Regions from separate parts of the Homo sapiens genome. Here region 1 is linked to region 2. Evidence: promoter capture Hi-C in human tissues and cell types (Jung and others, 2019). All regions are on one chromosome and are shown on one strand. The core of a region is centred on a gene start or on the middle of the fragment in contact, and the rest is flanking DNA. Distances in the headings are between cores, read along the strand shown.

What was found. The method cuts DNA at HindIII sites, captures the fragments that hold promoters and counts their contacts. A contact is called where the count stands out against the background at its distance.
Region 1: a contact is called between a fragment that was not itself captured here and the fragment with the promoter of QRFPR in region 2, in 1 of the 25 tissues and cell types used here (H1 embryonic stem cells).

Annotation. Positions count from the first base shown.
Region 1 is chr4:121,435,154-121,441,336 of GRCh38, reverse strand. All of the region lies in intron 1 of LOC107986309 (a long non-coding RNA gene), which reads right to left. Among named protein-coding and RNA genes, the nearest start is that of QRFPR, 57 kb to the right of the region's middle. The HindIII fragment of the contact is 4,542 bases long and covers 2,163-6,183 here.
Region 2 is chr4:121,377,234-121,383,437 of GRCh38, reverse strand. It overlaps QRFPR (pyroglutamylated RFamide peptide receptor), which reads left to right and starts at 2,420. Exons shown (of 6, transcript NM_198179.3): 1 at 2,420-3,130. The coding sequence starts at 2,791. RefSeq lists an enhancer at 1,850-2,634. The HindIII fragment of the contact is 9,664 bases long and covers 1-5,570 here.

The DNA of each region.
Region 1 (6,183 bases), core at 3,184-5,683, 56 kb before region 2:
AGCATCATAATGACAGGATCAAATTCACACATAACAATATTAACCTGTAATGTAAATAGGCTAAATGCCCCAATTAAAAGACACAGAATGGCAAATTGGATAAAGGGTCAAGACCCATCGGTGTGCTGTATTTAGGAGACCCATCTCACGTGCAAAGACACACATAGGCTCAAAATAAAGGGATGGAGGAAAATTTAACAAACAAATGGAAAGCAAAAATTATTGCTGTTTTTAGTGTAACAAATAAACTAAACTGAGGAACAAAAGGTTTCTTTAAAAATATCTTCACTTTAACTTTTTAAATATTTTTCACATCTTTGAGTGATGCATACTAATTAATCAGAAGAAAATAATGAGCTTTTCATCAAAGTATATAAAACTGAACTAATAATGTGCTAGCTATTCCCCTTTGGCTTTTAGTCTCAATTGAGATTAATTGTTCCTGCAAAAATTCAGGGAAAGGGGGTTTTGATTGACTTCGTTTTAGTATTTTGTCTTTGGATTCTCAAATATACTGAACCATTAATCAGAATATTATCAAGCCTGGGTCTCCTACATGAGAAAATAAGAAATTATGTAGACACAGTAGTTAAATTCTCCCCACTAAGCAGAAGAAACAATTGAATTTAATTTCTGATTGCTCTTGTAATATTTCCCACAGCTCCAAGAACACTGGAAATACAATGGAGCTTTGATGAATAAATCTTTTAGGAATGAGATTCATTTACCAAAGAGGTTTTTAAAAAATAGTTCAATTTAAAATTAATACATCATTTAAAGCAAAGTTGTGGTCAAATTCCTGTGTAGGGTCTAGTAGATGCTCCCAGCTGAAGGTTTCCAAATTTAAGCTAGATAAAATCGTAATTTTCAAATTTTATCTTCTATTTGTACATTTTGTTCTTTGTCTCATAAGGAAAAAAAATGTGTTTTCTATTTTCTGTATTTTTCTATGGCAAAATATGAAATATTTTGATATCATTAATGAAAATACTGGACTTTATTTCCCCTTTGGACCCTTACATTCTGTACAATCTGTATTGGATATCTATAAGCAGATAGAAAACTGGTGACTCAGGCAAGATTCTTTGAATCACATTTGTACAGTTAGAGGTAAATTCCTGAGAGCTATGAGGAGAAAAGATGTCTTTCTTTTAAGTTTTGAAATCTGGGGCTGTTCTTTTTCACCACAGCTCGGTGTTCCAGAGGATCTCTCTTTCTAGGTCTTCTCCTAGCCTCTTTCCCGTTTCTTTCTGCTGCCACTGAGACTGAAGCACAGGCCACTGGCAGCAACTCTGCTGTCCTAGCAGTTGGGCTGCCATGCATTTACATGTACCTTGAGGATAGGCTCCTCACCTGCAACTGCTGCCTAGGGCCAAAGCAGGTGCTCTCAGCTGTCTGCCAATAGCTGTTGTCACTGACAGCAATTCCACTCTCCCCAGCAGCAAGGCCACAGAAAACATGCATGTGCCCTGAGGGAAGGCTTTCCCTGCTCATTGCTGCTGCTGCTGCCCTCATCTGAACATTTCACTGGAAACCCGGAAATCTCCTTGTCCCTACCTACTGCAGCCAGAGCCCATATGCACCACCTGAGGGCCCAAAGACAGGCCCACCTCACCTGGCTCCAACTGCCAGTGCCCAAGCACTTCACCTGGGGCCTGATGATGGACCTACCCAGACTGCCTCTACCACTACAGCTGGTACCTATCCTCACATGCCACCTGCAGACCTGAGGCTGAGCCTGTCCAGCCCACTGTTGCCACAGCTGGCACCCAAGCAAACCACATGGAGCCCAAGAATCAGCCTGCTTGGACCCACTAACACCAGTGCAGAGTATGTTGTTGCCCTAAGGCCCAAGGACAGGCATACTAAGCCCACTGCTTCCACCATTTGGGTCCAAGGACAGGCCCACTTGGCATCACCATCTCGAGCAAAACTTCACCACAGCCTCTACTAACAAGTTTACCCTAAGTGACTGAGGAAATCACAGACAGCACTGATGCTATTTATAACTGAAGGAATTATACAGAGACTACACTACTGCAGACACCCAGAATCAAAGTCAAACTGCTATACCCAACCAAAATCATAGATATATCTTCAGGGAAAAGTCCTCCCCTATGAAAGTAAACCCAAAAAACTAGAAGAAGTAACTATTATACCAGAAGTACAGTTATCAGTGTAAAGACACAAGAAATATATTTAAAAAGGAAATATGATGTTTCCAAAGGAAAACAATAATTCCCCAGAAACAGATTCTAATAAAAAAGAATTTAGGAAATGCCAAAAAAAGAACTTAAAATAATGATATTAAAGGACCTCAGTGAAATATAAGAGAACACAGATAAATAATACAAAGAAATTGTAAAAACTATTTAAGATGTGGATGAGAAATTTACCAAATAGATAGATACCATAAAAAAGAACAAAACAGAAATTCTGGAACGCAAGAATTTATTGAATAAAATAAAAAATACATTTGAGAGCTTTAACAGTAGACTACATCAAGAAAGAAGGAATATTAGAACTTTAAGGGAGGTCTTTTGAAATAAACTGGTTAGACAGAATTAAAGAAAAAAGAGTTAAAAAGAATGAACAAAGACTATGTGACATATAGGGCACCATAAAATGACCAAATATAAAAATGTTTAGTATTCCTTAAAGTGAAGAGAAAACCAAAGGGATTTTAAAAAGCCTATTTATTGAAATAATAGCTTAAAAACAACCAAAGTCTAGCAGGAGATTGAGACATCTAAATATAGGCAGCTCAGGCATGACCAGATAGATACAAACTAAAAAGGCCTTCTCCAGAGCACATTACTGTCAACTGTCAAAAGTCAAGGACAAAGAGATAATTCTAAAGCCAGCAAGAGGAAAGTGTCTAGTCACTCTTAGGGGAATTACCATCAGACCCTACAGATTTCTCAGCAGAAACCCTTCAGAACAGAAGAGAATGTGATAATATAATCAAAGTGCTGAAAGAAAACCACCTATCTGCTAAGGATATTACACTAGCAAATTTATCCTTCATAAATGATGGAGAAATAAAGTCTTCTCTAGATAAGCAAAAGCTGAATGAATACATCACCACTAGACTGGCCCTTCGAGAAATGCTTCAGGGAGTCCTACATCTGGAAGTAAACGAACAATATCTACCACCGTAAAAACACACGAAAATATTAAACTCACTGGTAGAGCACACACAAATAAGGAATAAAAAGAACTCAAATGTTATCACTACAGGAAACCATGAAACTACAATGATAAACAATAAGAAAGAACGGAACAACGGATACACAAAACAACCAGAAAACAATAAAATGACAGGAATAAGCCTTCACATATCAATAATAACCTTGAAGGTAAACAGATTAAACTTTCCATTTAAAAGACATACACTGGCCAGGCATGGTGGCTTATGCTTGTAATCCCAGCACTTTGGGAGGCCAAGGTGGGTGGATCACTGAGGTCAGGAATTTGAAACCAGCCTGGCCAACATGGTCAAACCCTGTCCCTACTAAAAATACAAAAAAAAAAAAAAAAAAAAAAAAAAAAAAAGATGGGACTTGTGGCAGGTGCCTGTAATCCCAGCTACTAGAGAGGCTGAGGCAGGATAATCATTTGAACCCAGGAGGTAGAGGTTGCAGTGAGCTGAGCTCATGCCACTGTACACTAGCCAAACAACAGAGCAAGACTCTGTCTCAAAAAAAAAAAAATACAGGCAGGCTGAATGGACCAAAATGAAAAACAAAAAACCCAACTATGTGCTGCCTACAAGAAACTTACCTCATCTGTAGAGACACATACACATAGACTGAAAGTAAAGAGGTAGAAAAAGATATTCCATGTAAATGGGCAACAAAATGTGAGCAGGAGTAGCTATAGTTATATCAGATAAAACAGATTTTAAGTCAAAAATAGTAAAAAGAGACAAAGAAGGTAATTATATCATGATAAAGTAATCAAGTAAGCAAGAGGATATAACAATCTAAACAGAGATATAACCAATATTTGAGCACTCAGATATATATATATATACATATGTATACATATATATATGTGTGTATATATATATATATGTATATATATATATAGCAATTATTTATCAGCGAAGAGAGAACTGAGAAGGAGAAAGGGAAAAAGAAGGCATTTTTTCAAAGGAATCCCAGGGGTTCAGGATGCATTTGAAAGGGGTACAGACTGAAGATGAATGGCTTCCTATCTAGAAAGAGGGGAGCAGGTATGCCTGGTTCCCTTCTCTTCCTAGCAGATACCCAGGGTACATGAGGGAGAGAGGGAAGAGTATCCTCTTTCCCTCTTCCATTCCCAAGTCCCAGCGAACTTGGCAGGTGCCGCCACGGGTGTTAAAGTGACTTGCACCCATGAAGCAGGGGGGCCTAGAAGGTGGAAATCGTCTGCTTTTACCCACATACACCGTATTTCTCCTGGTTTCAGTAGCCTTGAATTCCCTAGACCTCATTTATGCCACAGATACTAACATGGCCTTTATCCATGAAACAAGAAGCTTGGGTTTGGCTTTATTGGCAGGAATCAGCCATGTTTACTTGCACTGTGCCTTTTAACTTCTATTGTCATCTGCCTCTGGATCCCTTAGATCCAGTTTTCTTTCCTAGGGCTTTGACCTGAAGTTTAGAATTGAGTTTGGGACAAAATGTGTCTCATGGTGGTTGCTGGACTCCTTATCATAAGCCAAATGTTAAGGTGAAACTGTGTCTGATAAAGGATAAATAACCAGAATATGTAATTAGCTCAAACAACTCTATAGGAAAAAACAAATGATCTGATTAAAATATGGGCAAATGATCTGAATAGACATTCCTAAAAAAAAAAACTTACAAATGGCAAACAGATATATGAAAAGATGCTCAACATAATTGATCATCAGAGAAATGCAAATCAAAACTACAATGAGATATCATCTTACTAATTAAAATGGCTTTTATTCAAAAGACAGGCAATAAGAAATGCTGACAAGGACACAGAGAAAGAACTCTCATACACTGTTGGTATGAACATAAATTAGTACAATCACAATGGAGAACAGTTCAGAGGTTCTTCAAACAACTAAAAGTAGAACTATCATATGATCCAGGAATTCCATTGTTAGGCATACACCCAAAAGAAAGGAAATTAGTATATTGAAGAAATATCTGTACTCTCATGCTTATTACAGCACTATTCACAATAGCCAGGATTTGGAAGCAACCTAGGTGTCCATCAACAGATAACAAGATAAAGAAAATGTGGTATGTTTACACAATGGAGTAGTATTCAGCCATAAAAAATAATGAGATCCTGTCATTTGCAACAACATGGATGGAACTGGAGGACATTATAATAAGTGAAATTAGCCAGGCATAGAAGACATATTTTTCATTTTTCACTTAATTGTGGAAGCTAAAAATTAAAACAGTTGAACCCACGAAAAATAGACAGTAGAATGATGGTTACCAGAGACTGGGAAACGAGTGGCAGGAGGAATTGAGCACAGCTAATTGGTACAAAAACATAGTTAGATAGAATGAATAAAATCTAGTATTTGATAGCACAACAGGGTGACTACAGTCAATAATTTGTTGTATATTTAAAAGAGTATAATAGAATTGTTTATAACACAAAGAAAAAATAATTGCTTGAGGTGATGGATATCTAATATGGTTTGGTTCTGTGTCCCCACCCAAACTCATCTTGTAGCTCCCATAATTCCCATGTGTTGTGAGAGGGACCCAGTTGGAGATGACTGAATCCTGGGTCCAGGTCTTTCCCATCCTCTTCTTATGATAGTGAATAAGTCTCACAAGATCTGATGGCTTTGAAAAAAATGGGAGTTTCCCTGCACAAGCTCTCTTCTCTTATCTCCTGCCATGTGAGACATGCCTTTCACATTCCACCATAATTGTGAGTCATTCGCAGCCACATGGAACTGTAAGTCCATTAAACGTTTTTTACTTCAGTCTCGTGTATGTCTTTATCAGCAGTATGAAAGCAGATTAATACGTAAATTGGTACTAGCAGAGTGGGGCGTTGCTGAAAAGATACCCAAAAATGTGGATGCAACTTTGAAACTGGTTAACAAGCAGAGGTTGAAATTGTTTGGAGGGCTCAGAAGAAGACAGAAAAATGCAGGAAAGTGTGGAGCTTCCTAGATGCTTGTTGAATGGCCTT
Region 2 (6,204 bases), core at 1,171-3,670:
TCTATGCAAGAAATCTACCAAAAAACCCTCTGTATTAGTCCATTTTCACACTGCTGATAAAGACATACCCAAGACTGGGCAATTTACAAAAGAAAGAGGTTTACTGGATTTACAGTCCCACATGGCTGGGAAGACCTCACAATCAAGGTGGAAGGCAAGGAGGAATAGGTCACATCTTACATAGATGGCAGCAGGCAAAGAGAGAACTTGTGCAGAGAAACTGCTGTTTTTAAAACCATCAGATCTCATGAGACCCATTCACTATCATGAGAACATCGTGGAAAGACCCACCCCCATGATTCAATCATCTCCCACTGGTCCCTCCCACAACACATGGGAATTATGGGAGCTACAAGATGAGATTTGGGTGGGGACACAGAGCCAAATCATATCAACCTCCTAATAAAATTAAGTGAATTCATCAACATTGGAGGAATCAAGATCAACATACGAAATAAATTGGATTTCTGCATACTAGTAATGAACACATGGAACCAAAAATTAGAAATTCAGTACAGTACCGTGTACAAATGTCCGCCCAAAATGAAATACTTAGGTGCAAATCTAAAAATATGTACAGGACTTACATGCTGAAAACTGTAAAATGCCTTTGAAATAAATCAAAGATGTAAATTTATGGAAAGACATTCTTCTCATGGATTGAAAAACTCAACCTAGTAAATATGTCAATTTCTATCAAAATCCCAGCAAGGTTTTTTGTAGACATAGACAAGTTGATTGTAAAATGTATATGAATAGGCACAGGTCCTAGAATAGTTACAATAATTTTGAAAAATAAGAATGAAGTATGAGAAATCATGCTACCTGATTTCAAAACTTATTATATAGCTACAGTAGTCAAGAATGTGGAGGATAGACACATAGATCAATTCAACAGAATAGAGAGCCCAAAACATAAAATGTAAAACTATAACACTTTTAGAAAAATACCTAAGAGAAAGTTTTTGAGAAATAGGCTTTGGTGAAGTTAGACTGAACACTAAAAGCTATCTATAAAAGAAAATATTGATAAATATGACTTCACTAAAACTAAAAGCTGTTCTGTGAAAGTCCCTGTTAAGAAGATAAATAACAAGCTACAGACTGGAAGAACATATTTGCAAACCGTTTACTAACAAAGGACTTGTATGTAGAATATAAAAAGAACTTTCAACAGCAAATAAACTAAACCATGCAATTAGAAACGGACAAAACACATGGAAAGACATTTCACCAAAGAAGATTCAAGGACGGCAAATAAGCACATGAGATGTTCAATATTACTTGCCATTAGGTAAATGTAAATTAAGGCCCTAAAGAGATATCACTACAGATCTATTAGAATAGCTTAAAAAAAAAAAGCAGCAAAACCAAATGCTGGCAAGGATGTGGAGAAACGTAACTTCTCATGCATTGATGGTAGAGATGGAGACTTGTACAGCCACTCTGAAAAGTAGTCAATCTCTTTAAAAATTAAATATACACATTACAGATTCAATAATCAAAACTTTTGGCATTTCCTATAGAAAGGAAAACTATGTTCACACAAAAACCTGTACATGATTCTTTATAGCAGCTTTATTTTTAATAGCTCAAAATGGTAATCAACCAAAATGTTCTACAAGAGGTGGATGGTTAAATAAACGGTGATACAGCCTCAGCAATAAAAAGAAACAGCCATTAATACATGCAACAACTTGGATGGATTTAAAGGGCATTAGGCTGAGCGAAGAAAATTCAATATCAAAAGGCAGCATATTGTATGATTTCCCTTACGTAATGTTCTGACAAAAGTTAAGAGAGAACATATTAGTGGTTGCCAGGAGTTAGAGATGGTGGAGGGAGGGGCTAGGTGTGAGTATAAAAAGCACCAGGGAGATTTTTGTGGTGATAGAAGAGTTTGTATCCTGACGGTTACGGGAATCTACACTTGAGATAAAAACATGCAAACACTGTACCTGTGTCAAATTCCTGGTTTTGTATTGTTCCGTAGTTAAATAAGATGTAATGAATGAAAGAAACTGGGTGAAGGGTGGGTACGCAGGATCTTTCTGTATTATCTTTGCCATTTCCCAAGTTCTATATTTTAACTATCTTAATTATTTTTCAATACAGAAAATAATTTAAAATAAGCCCTATTTGCCTTGGGTAGTTGTGGCTCCCATTATTACGCAAGAGGAGAAACTTGAAACTGTGGAACCCCCCAATACCCAGTTTCACATACAAGCATTACCTGACTGGGGCCATGCCCTGAGAAAGGCGCTGGGCGGCAGCAAGTTGGTGAGCCAGGGAAGTCTTCCCTCGCCCTGAGGGTGCGGGGAAGCGGCGTTGGCGCCACTGAAGCTGGGTGTGAGGGAGGCGTCACCGAGTTCAGCCCCACCCTCCACCGCTCCCCAAGCGGGTCCGGCGTCCGCATCGCATGGCCAGAAGGCGGGGAGCCAGAGGCGCCAGGACCCTCGCGTGGCGCTCCAGCACCCCAGACCGTGGCGGCGCCTCGCCTTAGGGAAGAGCAAGGGAAGAACTTTATTTGAACCGCGAACATTTTTTGGTCACTGAGATCGAGTCTCCCAGTGCTTTGGCTTCCCGCCTCTTTATCGTGGGTTTGATCCCTGAGCTGCTCTCCTTTCCCGAACCTCCCGGGGTGCAGCCTAGAGCCCTCCCGCGCGGCTGACTCCAGAGTAGAGGAAGGGAGGCGGCCTCCGGCTGGTCCCCCGAAGCCCTCGCTGCCCCGCAGATGCGGATGGCCAGCCAGTAGCGGGCGGTGGCCCCGCGTCCCGGGAGCGCACAGCAATGCAGGCGCTTAACATTACCCCGGAGCAGTTCTCTCGGCTGCTGCGGGACCACAACCTGACGCGGGAGCAGTTCATCGCTCTGTACCGGCTGCGACCGCTCGTCTACACCCCAGAGCTGCCGGGACGCGCCAAGCTGGCCCTCGTGCTCACCGGCGTGCTCATCTTCGCCCTGGCGCTCTTTGGCAATGCTCTGGTGTTCTACGTGGTGACCCGCAGCAAGGCCATGCGCACCGTCACCAACATCTTTATCTGCTCCTTGGCGCTCAGTGACCTGCTCATCACCTTCTTCTGCATTCCCGTCACCATGCTCCAGAACATTTCCGACAACTGGCTGGGGGGTAAGAGTCGCGCCCCGCTCCTTCGCTCCTTCTCTCTTAACCCTCTGCCTTTCAGGGGATCTCTCTCTCTCTCTCTCTCTCTCTCTCTCTCTCTCTCTCTCTCTCTCTCTCTCTCTCTCTCCTCTCTCGTCTGTCTGTCTCTCTCTCGTCTGTCTCTTCCTTACACTTCTCTGTCAAATGAATCCGGTGCTCTTTCTTAGAACTTCGCCACCTGTGTTCACCTGGACATAAGTTCTTTTGGCCGCCTCTGATTCCCCTCCAGTGCTTCCTCCTTGTGGCTTAGAGACATAGGTTGGGGAAAAGCTTCGGAAAGGTCCCGAGCAGTGAGGCAGGAAGTCGCACCCCTCGCCACTTATTTCAGCTCCCTTTCCCGTCATTACCAGGTTTTTCTCCCCTAGTTTTCTTACTAAAAGTGAGATAAAAATATTTCAAATAATTAAACCAAAGTTAAAAATCTCATTTCCTCATTCCCCCACCCTCCAGCCTCACTTCCCAGTTGCTTGCAGACAGCTTCTTGTACCTATGAGCATAAAACAAATATAATTCATGTGCAGAAAAAATATATTGAACTAGTCCTTTTAAAAACTGTATTAAGTGTCATGCAGGAAGAAGGAACACAGAAAACTGATGCCCTCCTATTATAAAAGAAGAGATAACATTCTCCTCCTTCCGTATAATGGGGGAAAAAAAATGACAGAGGAGAGGTGGAGTCACTGAGTTGGGAGCAGTGTGTGGAGGTTGGAAAAAAAGATATATTTCTTGAGATGATCCAGCTTTTCCAAGAACACAGCTGGAGAATGCCCTGGTGTAAACCCAGGAGCAGTAGTGTGTTGTATTCTCACCAGTGCTTAAGGTGCACCATGGGCCTCCCCTTTTTCACGGTTGGGTGTATTCTTGTGGCCACATCAAAATGGTTAGAAATGTAAGAGAAATAGATCATTATGCCTTCAATCTCTGCTATTTCTATCCCATTACTAATTCTCTTAAACTCATGGAGGGTGTTTCATCCTACCATTACCAATTTGAGATCGTGAGCATTGCTTTTTTTCTCATTAGCTTAAACTGAGTTTGCTGTTAGTCAGTCAGAATGTTAAAGTCCTTGATTCTTATCAATCTATAATGTAAATATTTTCAAAAAAGCATTAAACATTGAGTACAGAGCATTGACTTGAAAGTAATACACAATGTGGAAAGTAAGACCTTGATTTATGGATTAGAGACTTTCTTATGCACTCTGATGCAGTAATTGTATTTGGGCATTTTAAAGTTGCTCAGTGCAACTAACTCCATAAAATTAATGGGGTATTTTTTGATCATCATACGGAACTTGGTTTTTGGGGAAAAGCACATGAGTTTTCATTTCTAAATGTTTGTGAAAGCAGATTTATGAGGCTTCTTTGTGCTGGGGATGATTATAGCTCCATTTGTAAAGGTGAAAATAATTATGCAAAGTGGGATTTTATGGTGGGGATCAAAAGAACTGGATTACTATTTTGGCTGTAATACATGTTAATTTAGTATGTCTGGGTCTCAATTTTTCAGTAAAATATTAGGGATTAGAGAAGTTTGAAAGTGCAGTGAGTCTGGCCAGGCGTGGTGGCTCACGCCTGTAATCCCAACACTTTGGGAGGCCGAGGCGGGCGGATCACGAGGTCATGAGATCGAGACCATTCTGGCTAACACGGTGAAACCCCGTCTCTACTAAAAATACAAACAACAACAAAAAATTAGCCGGGCATCGTGGCACGCACCTATAGTCCCAGCTGCTCAGGAGGTTGAGGCAGGAGACTTGGCTTGACCCCGGGAGGCAGAGGTTGTAGTGAGCCGAGATCACGCTACTGCACTCCAACCTGGGTGACAGAGCAAGACTCCGTCTCAAAAAAAAAAAAAAAAAAAAAAAGTGCAGTGAGCCAGATCTTTAGCTCCAGTTCATGTTGGGGAATCATGGCCAAGAAAGGCCATATGGTGCATCTTCCATCCTCAGGGCTTATTTGGGCACTGCCAAGGTTTTTCTCAAGTTTTCTTTTCTCCCTGCTTCTTACTTCATGGAGAACATTTCACTTTAGCTTCTAAATACTGAAGGAGAGTAATATATTGCTCATTTATTTTATAGGGTTAGTGTGAGAATAAAGTGTGTTAGTAAAAGTGCTTTGAAAAATATTGGTCATGCCATGAAAGTATAAGGTATTAATTCTATTAAGGGGTGTTTAATTGGAGGTGGCCTATGTTTATCTGGGACCAGATTTATAGAATAAATAATGATCTTATAAATTGAGTAAATAATACCAAAATTGAAGTGCGAGGGAGAGGTGAGAGCATGCAGAGGGGCTAGAGATCAATATGAAAATAGAATTAACTTGCGCATTATAGGACAGGATAATCATGGCAAAATTTCCTTGATAAATTAACCAAAGTTCAAGAGAATGTAATCTAAGAGCCAAAAATTAATTCATAATTTATTATTTTACAAAGCTATTGAGGATCTCCTATCTGGAAAAGTGTTCTACCTTGAGAGTACAAAAGTGAGTAAAGTCTATCTGTGCCCTTCAGGACCTCAGAGAATAGGAGATGGCCCCAAAATGAGCAAAAACAGGATTTGATAGAAAAAGGATCCACTTTGCTCTACGAGCACAGAAGAGTCAGGAAGGCTTCCTGAAGGATGTGATGTTCAAGCTGGGTCTGGAAGAATAATTCAGAGAATAATTTAGACTCTTTCCAGCAGAGGATGGAGTGTGTTCTAGGAATAGGGGTCAGTGCCAAGTTGGAGGGAAGAAAGAAGATGGTGTGTTCCAAGAATACCGTGCAAGGCATTGCAAGAATGCACAGGTTATATGTGGGGAATGGCAGGAAATGAGACAGAAAAGTAGTGCAACTGGGGAGGAAAAAAAAAAAAATATATATATATATAGTTATGTAAAAACCTAAAATATGAATACCCCTCAAATTCCTTCAGGGGTGAGGTAGGAAACACAAACAAAGCAATGAAGATCACCAGGAAGCAACGGCGACAAAAGGAAGACTGTCTCCTCTAAAGGGGGCAGGATTGCAGCATGCTGGAGTGGTGCCCAGGATTG